Linked DNA regions of Homo sapiens: regions 2, 3 and 4 are each linked to region 1. Evidence: promoter capture Hi-C in human tissues and cell types (Jung and others, 2019). All regions are on one chromosome and are shown on one strand. The core of a region is centred on a gene start or on the middle of the fragment in contact, and the rest is flanking DNA. Distances in the headings are between cores, read along the strand shown. Region 1 holds the start of RAMP2 (receptor activity modifying protein 2). Region 2 holds the start of RPL27 (ribosomal protein L27). Region 3 holds the start of NAGLU (N-acetyl-alpha-glucosaminidase). Region 4 has its middle 17 kb from the start of AARSD1.

What was found. Contacts are between HindIII fragments. The study calls those that stand out against the background at their distance.
Region 2: the fragment with the promoter of RPL27 here is called in contact with the fragment with the promoter of RAMP2 in region 1 in 1 of the 25 tissues and cell types used here (lymphoblastoid cells).
Region 3: a contact is called between the fragment with the promoter of NAGLU here and the fragment with the promoter of RAMP2 in region 1, in 1 of the 25 tissues and cell types used here (lymphoblastoid cells).
Region 4: a fragment that was not itself captured here is called in contact with the fragment with the promoter of RAMP2 in region 1 in 7 of the 25 tissues and cell types used here (IMR-90 fibroblasts, dorsolateral prefrontal cortex, liver and 4 more).

The regions. Positions count from the first base shown.
Region 1 is chr17:42,759,843-42,762,721 of GRCh38, reverse strand. It overlaps RAMP2 (receptor activity modifying protein 2), which reads right to left and starts at 1,495. Exons shown (of 4, transcript NM_005854.3): 1 at 1,364-1,495; 2 at 823-888; 3 at 259-367; 4 at 1-125. The coding sequence starts at 1,460. RAMP2-AS1 (RAMP2 antisense RNA 1) reads left to right here and starts at 1,465. Exons shown (of 6, transcript NR_024462.1): 1 at 1,465-1,842; 2 at 2,011-2,087; 3 at 2,209-2,296; 4 at 2,842-2,879. RefSeq lists a silencer at 1,292-1,381. The HindIII fragment of the contact is 24,962 bases long and covers 1-2,879 here.
Region 2 is chr17:42,997,037-42,999,915 of GRCh38, reverse strand. RPL27 (ribosomal protein L27) reads right to left here and starts at 1,497. Exons shown (of 5, transcript NM_000988.5): 1 at 1,445-1,497; 2 at 1,085-1,167. The coding sequence starts at 1,165. It overlaps LOC124904006 (a long non-coding RNA gene), which reads left to right. Exons shown (of 2, transcript XR_007065759.1): 1 at 1-195; 2 at 530-2,879. RefSeq lists enhancers at 1,036-1,145, 1,216-1,455, 1,466-1,775, 741-1,940. The HindIII fragment of the contact is 14,123 bases long and covers 1-2,879 here.
Region 3 is chr17:42,534,612-42,537,490 of GRCh38, reverse strand. It overlaps NAGLU (N-acetyl-alpha-glucosaminidase), which reads right to left and starts at 1,250. Exons shown (of 6, transcript NM_000263.4): 1 at 836-1,250; 2 at 1-93. The coding sequence starts at 1,218. RefSeq lists silencers at 748-817, 938-1,347 and enhancers at 207-944, 1,458-1,537. The HindIII fragment of the contact is 7,033 bases long and covers 160-2,879 here.
Region 4 is chr17:42,946,391-42,949,269 of GRCh38, reverse strand. No RefSeq gene overlaps it. Among named protein-coding and RNA genes, the nearest start is that of AARSD1, 17 kb to the left of the region's middle. The HindIII fragment of the contact is 8,985 bases long and covers 1-2,879 here.

The DNA.
Region 1 (2,879 bases), core at 246-2,745:
GGGAGCAGTTGGCAAAGTGGATCTGGTGAGTCTCAAAGATGATCCTCTCTGCCAAGGGATTGGGGAAGCCCAGGTCAAACAACTCTGCAAAGTGCTCCAGGCAATCTCGCAGGGTGCTATAAGGCCTAGGGGCAGAAGAGGACTTGAGTGAGAGAGGGGGTGGACCCAGGGAGAAGAGTGCCCCACTCTCACTCAGGGTCTACCTGCAATGAGCAGGTCCACCCCCTGGCCTGAGCCACCCTCCATCACTGCCCCTACCTGCTAATCATGGCCCAGTCGCACCAATCCTTTTCGATAGGATCCATTTGATCCTTATAATGATTCCAGCAAAATTGGACAGCTGTCTCATAGTTCTTCACCGTCCCCCCTGTAGGTACAGATGCTACACAATGACCACACCCCTACCCCTCCCTACAAACCCTCCTGCCCAGGTGCTTGCAAGGTGAACTGCCTGTCTTCAAACGTGGGAACCCTTCAGAAAGTTTCCCTAGCAAAACATTCTGGCTGAGGACAGAGTCCCAGCTCAGGAATCCTATAATGACTTCCATGTGCTAAGCACTTTCCATCCCAGCCTGATAAGAACTTCCACGTACACCTTTTCCTGGGGTCTTCTCGCCCACTTGTGAGGTGGGCAGCTCAGAGCCGTGCAGGGGCTTTGTAGGAGGACAGGGAGAAAGACCACGAGGAACCCCAAGAAAGAACAGAGGGGAGTGTAGTGGGGCATCAGCTGGGGTTGGGCAGGCCTCGTGGGAAAGGAACCCTCCCCACTGAACTTGCTCTCGTCCTTACCCTCGGCCACCCTTCCACACCCTGGGTACCCACCTTCTGACCCTGGTGTGCCTGTGGTGGGAAGAGGCTGAGCCAGGGCCTCGTGGGGATTCAGGACAGCTGTGGGAAGAAACGGGAGAGGAGGGTAACATAGCGGGGACCCCGGCAGTGGAGCCTGCGAGGGGGGTTGGGGGACTGAGACCCTCCGAAAATAGGCTACCTTGGAAGAAAAGGAGGAATAATCTAGCCCCCACGGACGCCTCAGTGCCGGGGAGGGAGGGGCTGGCACCAGCTCCTTGTCACTCACACCCAGGCCCAAAGCCCCCTCATCTCTGGCCAGCTTCCGTCCTCCTAAGCCCTCTTCGAGGGGCCGGGGCCAGCACCCCAGCTTTCCCTGGGTGGGAAGCAGCTCATGCTGCGCCCGCCCCGAGGTGGGGTCAGGGACCGTCCGAGGGCCAGTGCTGCTAGGTACGTCGGTCCTAACCCGCACCCCAGGGCCCGTTCCGGCCTCGGCCATCCAGCCCCTCTCCCCTCTCCCCTCTCCCCTCCGGGGCCTCTCGCGCCTCCCGCCCGGGCCTCGGGGCGCCGCGCTCACCGCCCAGCAGGAGGAGGAGGCGGAGCGCTGCCGGCCGCCCGACTCGGGTCCTAGGGAGACGCGGGCCGCCGGCGCGCTCCACCCGGAGCGAGGCCATCGTGCAGCAAGGAGGCGAGGAGCGGCGGCGGCGCTGAGCCGGGCCCGGGTGTGGGGGCGCCTATATCCCCAGCCCAAGCTGCAGGAAGCCGCGCCGCTTCCTCGGAGGGGCTGGGACGGCGGCGGCCACGTGGGGGGCGGGGGCGACGCTCGGGGCCCGCGGCTGGAGGGGGAGTCGCTGCCTCACCCGCGCCTGGCGCCCGCGGCTCCCTCCGCCTCGCCGGCGTTGGCCCACCCTCTCGTAGCTCACCCCGCGAGGCTGGACAGCTCCCGGAACCCCGGAACCGGGATCTATTTCGGGGGCTCGGCTGCGTGGCGCCCAGGACTCTCCAGGGTCTCCCAGGATCGCTCCCCGAATTCGAGTCGCCCCCTCTCTCTTTCGGGTCTGGAGGGGTCGGCAAGCTGCTCTCCCAGACGTGGAGAAGAGGGAGGGGGCTGGGAGCTCCAGCGGCCTCTCGACGCCGCTGCTTCTAAGGGGCTGTCCTGGGTTGTGGGGGAAGGGGCGCCTGGAGCTGAGCCATGCAGCTCAGGGTTCCTTATCCTATCCCTAGGAATACCAGCTGATGTCAGTCCGCCAGCCAAAACCAGGGAGGAGAAGCGGGAGCCAGCCCTCTGGAGTCGGGAGAAGGTCTGGGGAGTGGGGTAGAGGGGAAAGCAAAGTCCAAATACCTTCCCTTCAGACACCTCCTGGGGCCTAGACCCCACAAACCTGTTGTGGGGAGGGCAAAATACGATGACTACGTTCCCAGGAAGAAGGTGCCACAGCTCTTCAGGACCACGGTTGGGAGAAAGAATGGAGGGGTTTTAGAACCTTCAGTGTGCGACTTCATGTGCCAGGTGAGTGTAACACCATTTTACAGACCGAGAAGCTAAAGCTCAGGGCCAACAGCCCGGGATTTGAATTCAGAAGCTCTGGGTTCTAATTCTGTCTTCTTACTCCCCAGCTATAGAGCCTTGAATGACACGTTTACCTTCAGGACTTCTCATGTGAAATAGGGACATTCCCCTCCTCACTGTATGATGGCAGCTGTGAAAGGGCACTGCACTCGCTAAATGCTAGTTTCCTTTCCTCTTTTCCTAAGTGACTTATCTAAGGTCACACTGTTAAGGAAGCAGCAAGGCTGAGTCTGGGCCTCCGGGGGTCCTGACTTCAGCCACACCACAGCTGCTTCTTGTGTCCTGGGCCAGAGGTTCATTAGTCTGAAGCAGCTGAGGAGCCCAGGAGCTGGTTTGGCCATGACGTTCAAGTCCCAGACACAGCTGTCAGCACCAAACTTTCCTAAATTACTCCCAGACACTGACCCTTGGACTCAGCTGCTGCTGTTGTCCCAGTTTACTGATTCCTGCCCACCACAAATTATCTGTCCTGATCTCTCCTGAAGTCTTCATCTCAGGATCTCAAGCTCTTGGATCATGGGCA
Region 2 (2,879 bases), core at 248-2,747, 240 kb before region 1:
ACATTTGTTATTCACTGAGGGCCTATTTAGGCCCTGTGTTAGAGGTAGTGCAGTGTCCAAAAAATATTTCCACCCTCAGGTCTCCAAGATCCACCATTATAAAGAGAAAAATCACAGAAAGCTATGAGAAATGACCAAAGAGAAACAGAACAGTGTTTATCTCCATCAGGAAGCATCTGGAACGGCTTACTAGAGGTAAGAGATTTAAAAGTAGCAACAGTTAACATTTAAGAAGTACTTGCTATATGCCAAGCACTGCTCACAGGACTTGGTATCTATTCACTTGCTCCACTGCTAGTGAAGTGTACAGCCAAGGTTAAGACACCACAGCCTAACTCCAGAGATCAGTCTCAGGAGATGGGAGAGGGGAATCCAGGGGTACTCCAGTGTCCCCACAACAACAAAACGCAGTGGTGTATGTGGCCAGAGCCTAGGGAACTCTCTCAAGAAGCTACAAAATCATGGATAAGAGGAAAACAGTGAGGGGCTATGTGACCTTTCTAAAAGCAATTTCCTCCTCTTCTTACAGATTCCCAGCTGCAGCACTTCAGGTAAATAACAGAACACCTCCAAACCTTAGCAACAGGAAGGAACCCCCTATAGCTGGGGATGGTGGCACGCACCTGTAGTCCCAGCCACTCGAGAGGCTGAGATGGGAGACTCGCTTGAGCCCGGGAGGTCGAGGCTGCAGTGATCACGCCACTGCACTTAGCCTGGACAGAGATCCCGTCTCAAAAAAAAAAAAAAGAAAAGAAAAGAAAAGGAATCCCCTATGATTACTTCAAGGACTGCACATGACAATACCTGAAAGGCAGTGGGAGCACATAGCAAGCGTGCAATGTCAGCCACTATTACTATATATTTAAAGCCTCTGGTGGAGAAGGCTTTATGCGTTGGGAGCCCAATTCAGCTCACATTTGCTTTTACTGTGCTTCTTCCTCTCTCAAAAACTCTCCCACGTTCACCCTGACCGTGCTCACTGGCTACTGCCCCAGAAACAGGCCTTGAATTCCAAGCCTGCCCGCCCCGCCGCAGCCAGCCTGGTCCCGGCATGCAAGGACGCAGAGTCCCGCGAGGCTGATACCTTCACGATGACAGCTTTGCGTCCGGAGTAGCGTCCAGCCAGGACAAGCACCACCTTCCCAGGTTTCATGAACTTGCCCATTTCTGCAGAGAGCAAGGAGAAAGGGCCACTTAAAAATCCGTAAAGCCAAAGATGCCCAGAGCTGACTCCTGCCAGCAAGCCCAGGTCTTGGGCCGGAACTTCAGACTGTGTTCACTGTCGCCTTGGTCAAGGCCGCCCGAGGGCCCTGCTCGCAGGACAGGATCGGATACGTAGCCGCCAGAGACCTAGGGAAGGAATGCACCCGGCGCCGCCCGGACCTTCGACCCCCAAGCCGCGGATGGCAGCGGATTGAAAGATTCAACCCAAGCTTCTACTTACCGGCAGCAACCACCCGGCCCTACCAGCAAAAAGGAAAGAAGGACACTTCCGCTAACCTTTCACCCCGGTGAGGAGTGACCTCACTTCCTGTCCCGCCCTTCAGGCTTTGCCACGCTGATTGTGTGGTGCTGAGTCTCGTGTTGCGGGCGGAAGAAGCTCATGAGGGAAACGCAGGGCGCGGCAGCTCAAGTATTCGAATGAAACTTTATTAGCAGCTCCAGCAGTAGACAAGAGCAAAGGAGACTCCTCCCGGCCGACGGAAGAGCTGGGAGGGCGACTGTGCTGTGCGCTCTGGACTCAGCAGCTAGGCTTTGTTGTAGTTCCTTTCTCTGGCGCTAGGAGGGGGAACACAATCTGAAATTTACTTTTTCTCTTGGGAGACACAGGGAAAAAAATAGGGCATTTATTGGTGCCTGTCGGGGGCACTGTTAGCTAAAGAGGGAGGGACAAAGATCAGTAAGGGTGGCTGGTCCGATAGTAGTGGGTTATCAGAACTTATCAACGTTAGGGTCACTAAAGTTGGTATACAACCCCCCACTGCTAAATTTGGTTTTAAAAAAACAAACAAAAAGGATATTTACCCCCAACAGTTAAAGTCTAGTGGTGTCACTGACATTACCAACTAGAATAAGCATGAGGGAGGTAGAGGAGAAGAATGGCAGCTGCTTACCCTGTGCCAGGTCAGGTTAATCTATTTATGCACATCATCTGATTTGGTCATCATAACACTAAGAAATAGATACTATTATCTCCATTCTAGAGTCGAGGAAACTGGCTTAGAGAGATTTGCCCGAAGTCTATAGTGGTTAAATAGTGGAGCTGGGGCTCAGCCTCAAGCAGTTCAACTCCTGAACCCATACTGTTTACCATGTCACCATCCTGAGCAGCGATTCTCTCCCAGGCAAGATGTGAGCACTTTATACAAGCCGGCAGCCTGTTTAATCCTCACAACTCTGCATCTTGGGCATTCTCCTCCCATTTAGACATGAGGAAATTGCAATTCAGAGAGGATAAATTGCTTGTCTGAGGTTAATCCTAATCAGTGGCATAGATGGGATTCAAATCTAGGTCTGAATCTAGGTCTAGTTGGCTCTCAAACTGAATTATTTCCCATCACTCACCAGAAGAGTGTTTTCACATGGTACCTTATGTGCTTTCCGAGTTTAAGGGAAAGATAAACTATCTCACAGTTTTTGCTTATCTGAACCTATAGGATTTGTCTTGGGCAAGATGTGGAACAACCAGGATTTCATCAGTTCTCTCCTGAAGCTCTCCAGTGATACAATTTTCCCTGTATCCCTCAGGATCCCATTGCAATGGCTTTTGTTTTGTTTTTTGAGACAGGGTCTCGCTCTGTCACCCAGGCTGAATGGTGTGTAGCACAATCATGGCTCACTGTAGCCTCAACCTCCTGGGCTCGTGATCCCCCCACCTC
Region 3 (2,879 bases), core at 1-2,500, 220 kb after region 1:
AGCGCCATCCAGTCTATCTCTCGCTCCCAGCGGGCCCAGTCCCACCACACGAAAGAGTAGCTTTGCGTGCACACATTCTGGTAATAGCGGTACCTGCGGGCAGTGTCATGAGCAGGGGCGCATCCCACCCTGGAGGGTCCACGGCCCTGGAACAAATCCCCCATCCCCCACCTAGAGGAGAGGGGAGGGGCTCCAAACTCGGCCCTTCTGCTGCACACTGGGACCCACCCCAGGTGGAGCTGAGACCAGGTACCGGGGCTGGGCTTCTGAGGCACTCGTCCCCTGCACTCTCCCAGGGCCCTCTAGCCTGGCGGGTATTTGGGTGGCATATTCCACTTTCATGCCACACTGCCAGAGCCCCTCCTCTGCACGGTGTTTTCCTGGAACGGGGAATCCCTGCCCCCACAGTCTAACAGATGGGCAGGGGAGGACAGCTGTGTGAACACATCACTCCATAGTGTGGCAGGCGCTGGAACACAGGCCTGTAGGGTGGGGGATGGAGGCGTCCTTCCTCAGTCCGCAGGTTCAAAGAGAAGGTGGGGGAGGAAGGCAAGAAAATTCACTCATCACCAATTGTGCACCACAAATTCTATGCCCATCATCGTGCAAATCCTCACAATAACACTGCACGGTAGGCGTCTTCTTTCCGTTTTTCAGGTGGGCCAGCCGAGGCTCTGAAAGGCAGAGTGGCTGGCTCAAGGCCACACAGCTGCTGGAGGCGGCGCAGCTGGGCCTTCCGGCCAGCGCTCCCCGCTCAGCCTCCCGATTTGGGTGGCAGCGGCTCCGGGAGGGGGTAAGCGCCTCGGGCGGACGCGGGGAAGCTTCGGGGCGGTACCTGTTGGGCGTGGCCTCGGTCAGCTCCCCCGGCACGGCTGGCAGTGGCCGCGGCAGGCGCAGCTGAGAGCCGGACCAGGCCACGTGGCAGCCACAGAAGTCGCGCAGGTAGCGGTGCAGCCCCGCGGCGGCCGCCACGCCCGTGGAGCCGCGCACCCGCACGCGCGCCGCGCCGCCGCCGCCCAGGCTGTAGGTGTCCAAGCCCGGCTTGGCAGCCAGAGCGCGCTCCACCGACACGGAGAAGTCGGCCGCGGGGCCTGGCCCCAGCAGCCGGGCCACGAGCGCCCGCACGGCCGCCGCCTCCCGGGCCTCGTCGCCTGCCGCGCCCCCGGCCCCGGCCAGGAGAAGGACCCCCACCGCCGCGGCCACCGCCACCGCCTCCATGGTCTCAGTCCTGCGGGTCCCGCGACGGCCAGGGGGTGGGGCGGCCCGCGTCCAATCAGCTGCCGGCCTCCGGCCACGTGGACCCGAAGGCTAAGCCCGGGCTCAGGGCCAGGAGTCGCGGCTTCCGGGTACCAGGATACTCCCTTGGGGGCGTCTCGTGACCGCACGCGGTGGGGAGCGTGTGACCCCGGCTCCAGGGCCGAAGGGGACCCGCTGGCCCTCACAGAGCGCCTTCGGGTAAAACGCGCTTTCACACGCAAATAACTTCCATCCAACCATCTAATAAATACACATTTGGAGTTTATTTTGTATCAGGCACTGCCATAGCTACTTCCCTACTGATGAACGAGAAGACGGTCCCTACCGTCCCCGTCAGGGAGGTGACCTAGAAACCAGATATTTAACGTAAGTAAGGATTTCCATCATAGTTGTGATGCTGCGAAGTAGTGCAGTAAGTAGCGAAGTAGCGAAGTAAGGTTTCCAAAGGAAGTGACTTTTAATCTGAAACTCAGGGATGAATAGGAATTGGCTAGAAGAGGGAAAGGAAGAGCCTTCCAGACAGAAGAAATGCATTTATTGAAGGCCCTGAGAAGGCAGAGAGCTTGCAGATTTGAGTAACTAACAGGCTAGGAGGTTCGAGGAGGGATGGGGCCATGTGAGCCCAGGCCGGCGGTGGAGCAGGGCTGGCGGGCACGTTAAAGGCTGTCCATTGGCGGCAGCAGCAGCAACATAACAGGAGCTGTCATTTTGTCAGAAGTTTCCAACCAGAGCGACTCCATCTTGAACAGGGGCTGGGTAAAATGAGGCAGAGACCTGCTGGGCTGAATTCCCAGGAGGTTAGGCCTTCGTCACAGGATGAGACAGGAGGTCAGCACAAGATAAAAGGTCACAAGACCCCGCTGATAAAACAGAATGCAGCAAAGAAACTGGTCAAAACCTGCCAAAACCAAGACAGGAAGGTGACCTCTGATCGTCCTCACTGCTCATTATACGCTAATTATAATGCATTAGTATGCTAAAGACACTCCTAGCAGCGCCAGGCAGTTTACAAATGCCATGGCAACGTCCAGAAGTTACCCTATATGGTCTAAACAGTGGAGGAACCTTCAGTTGGGGGGGATCCCCACCCCTTTTCTGAAAAATTCATTACTAACCCACCCCTTGTTTATCATATAATCAAGAAATAACCATAAAAATAGCCAACCTTAGGCCAGGAGCGGTGGCTTACGCCTGTAATCCCAGCACTCTGGGAGGCTGAGGCTTGCAGATCACCTCAAGTCAGGGGTTTGAGACCAGCCTGGCCAACATACAGTGAAACCCCGTCTGTACTAAAAATACAAAAGTTAGCCAGGTGCTGGGCGCGGTGGCTCACGCCTGTAATCCCAGCACTTTGGGAGGCCAAGACGGGCGGATACGAGGTCAGGAGATCAAGACCCTCCTGGCTAACACGGTGAAACTCCATCTCTACTAAAAATACAAAAAATTAGCCGGGCGTGTTGGCGAGCGCCTGTACTCCCAGCTACTCGGGAGGCTAAGGCAGGAGAATGGCGTGAACCGGAGAGGCGGAGGTTGCAGTGAGCCAAGATCACACCACTGCACTCCAGCCTGGGGGACAGAGCAAGACTCCCTCTCAAAAAAAAAAAAAAGAAAAAAAGTTAGCC
Region 4 (2,879 bases), core at 113-2,612, 190 kb before region 1:
GATAACCTGTGGCTGTGGCTGTGGCTGTGTTCAGCTATTTGTTCTTCCGACTCTGAAAGGAACTTTTTTTTTTTTTGGAGATAAGAGTCTTGTTCTGCCACCTAGGCCGGAGTGCAGTGGCATGATTTTGGCTCACTGCAACCTCCGCTTCCTGGGTTCAAGCAATTCTTGTGCCTCAGCCACCCAAGTAGCTGGGATTACAGGTGTGTGCTACCAAAAATTTCCTTCAACCCTGCCACTGAGTTACCCAATTTCTTTCTCCAGAATCAATCACTTAATTTTTTTGTTTTAGATGGAGTTTCGCTCTTGTTGCCCAGGCTGGAGTGCAATGGCGCAGTCTCCGCTCACTGCAACCTCCGCCTCCCGAGTTCAAGCAATTCTCCTGCCTCAGCCTACCGAGTAGCTGGGATTACAGGCATGTGCCACCATGCCCGGCTAATTTTGTATTTTTAGTAGAGATGGGGTTTCACCATGTTGGCCAGGCTGGTCTCGAGCTCCTGACCTCAGGTAATCCGCCGGCCTCGGCCTCCCAAAGTGCTGGGATTACAAGTATGAGCCACCATGCCTGGCCTTTTTTTTTTTTTTTTTTCCAGATATAGTCTCACTCTGTTGCCCAGGCTGGAATGCAGTGGCACAATCATGGCTTACTGCAGTCTCAACCTCCTGGGAACAGGTGATCCTCCCACCTCAGCCCTCTGAGTAGCTGGGACTAGAGGTGTGCACCACCACACCTGGCTAATTTTTTGTATTTTTTCTAGAGACAGTGCTTTGCCGTGTTGCCCACACTAGTCTTGAACTCCTGGGCTCTAGCAATTTGTCCACTTTGGCCTCCCAGTGTTGGGATTACAGGCGTGAGCCACCATGCCCAGCCTGTTACCAATTTCTTATATATCCCTCTGGTAGTATTTTAAAAAATAGATGTACATAAATCTTCCCTCTTTTTAAACATAAATGGTAGCACATTGTATACTCTTCTGCATCTTGCTTTTCTCAGAGTGCCATGTTTTAGATAAAACCATAGTGTAACACTCATGCTATACAAAATGGGTCCATTAGTGGGAGAAAGGGAAATGTTTGCTTCACAGAAGCTTCCTTACTTTTGTAGAAGGACTCAGGCAGGATCTTGAACAGAGACCCATGTGAATTTGTCTCTGTGTGAGATCTCTGTCCCTCTCTGTGTTTGTTTCTTTAGGGTGTGCCTTAGTCTGATCTGACTGCTATAATAACAAAAACTAGGTAGCTTATAAACAACAAAAATGTATTTCTCACAGTGGAGGCTGGGAAGCTGGCAAATTCAGTGTCTGGTGTGAAGGTTCAAATACTGGTTCAGGAATAGCCATCTTTTTGCACCCTTGGTGCAAAGGGTAAGGGGTCTTTCTTGGGCCTTTTTTTTTTTTTTTTTTTTTTGAGACAGATGGAGTTTCACTCTTGTTGCTCAGGCTGAAGTGCAATGGTGCAATCTCAGCTCACTGCAACCTCCACCCCCTAGGTTCAAGTGATTCTCCTGCCTCAGCCTCCCGAGTAGCTGGGATTACAGGCGCCTGCCATCCCACCCAGCTAATATTTTGTATTTTTAGTAGAGATGGGGTTTCACCATGTTGGCCAGGCTGGTCTCGAACTCCTGACCTCAGGTGATCCGCCTGCCTCAGCCTCCCAAAGTGCTGGGATTACAGGCATGAGCCTCCGCACCCAGCCCTCTCGGGCCTCTTTTATAATGCACTAATTTCATTCACGAAGGCTCTGCCCCCGTGACCTAATCACCTGCTAAAGGGCCCACCTCCTGATACCACTTAGGGGGTTAGGATTTCAACATATGAATTTTTAGGGGTACACAAAGATTCAGAACACAGGTGCAACAACAAGAACAGTGACCTGGGAGGCCACTCTTGCTCACTACCACTCAGGTGGGTTCTTGTCACTTAGACCTAGAGCAACCATGTAATTTTAATATCCAGAGTTAGGCAAACCTCATGCCAGAACAACAGTCAGAAACCCAGACGGTGTTAAGGTAGCCTGGATGTCTGGTCCCCCTGCTGAGACTCCCTGAGCTTCAGTTTCTTGACCTGAAAATGGACACATGAACTGGGTGTCCTAAGAAGGAAGGAACCTTATGAAATAATTAAGAAAAGCCATAAACACTTGAGCAAATTATGTGAAAATGGTAATTGGTTGTATAAAGAAAGAGAAAATAAAGCAGCAGTTTTTGAACTGGTGATGTCATTCTTGCCTGTCACTGAGGCCCTAATCCAATGCCCCAGGGAGAGGGGGAGAAGAACAGAGTGTGTTCAGGGGAAGGGGTGGATTGTCTTTTATGAGGTTCACCAGGAAACAAAATGAGTTCATTTATTGGAGTAATCAAGTTTTAGGTACACACACAGGTTATATATTCTGGAATGTTACTATAACCCACTTTACGGCACAGAAATAGTAAGGGGGACTCCTTGGCTTCTAAGGAAATTTTTTTATGTGCGTACCCATAAATTGCTGAAGACAGCTGCTGTAGCTTCCACTAAGGTGATGCATGTAGGTACTAGAACAGATGTTAGTATGAAAGATGAAAGGTATCAGGTGGAAGAGACCCAGAGCAGTAGACAGACTGAATTCAGGGCCGGCGCTGTGGCTCATGCCTGTAATCCCAACACTTTGGGAGGCTGAGGCAGGTGGATCACCTGAGGTCGGGAGTTTGAGATCAGCCTGACCAACATGGGAAAAACCCCGCCTCTACTAAAAATACAAAATTAGCCAAGTGTGGTGGCGCATGCCTGCAATCCCAGCTACTCTGGAGGCTGAGGTAGGAGAATTGCTTGAACCCGGGAGGCGGAGGTTGCAGTGAGCCAAGATCGCGCCGTTGCACTCCATCCAGCCTAGGCAACAAGAGC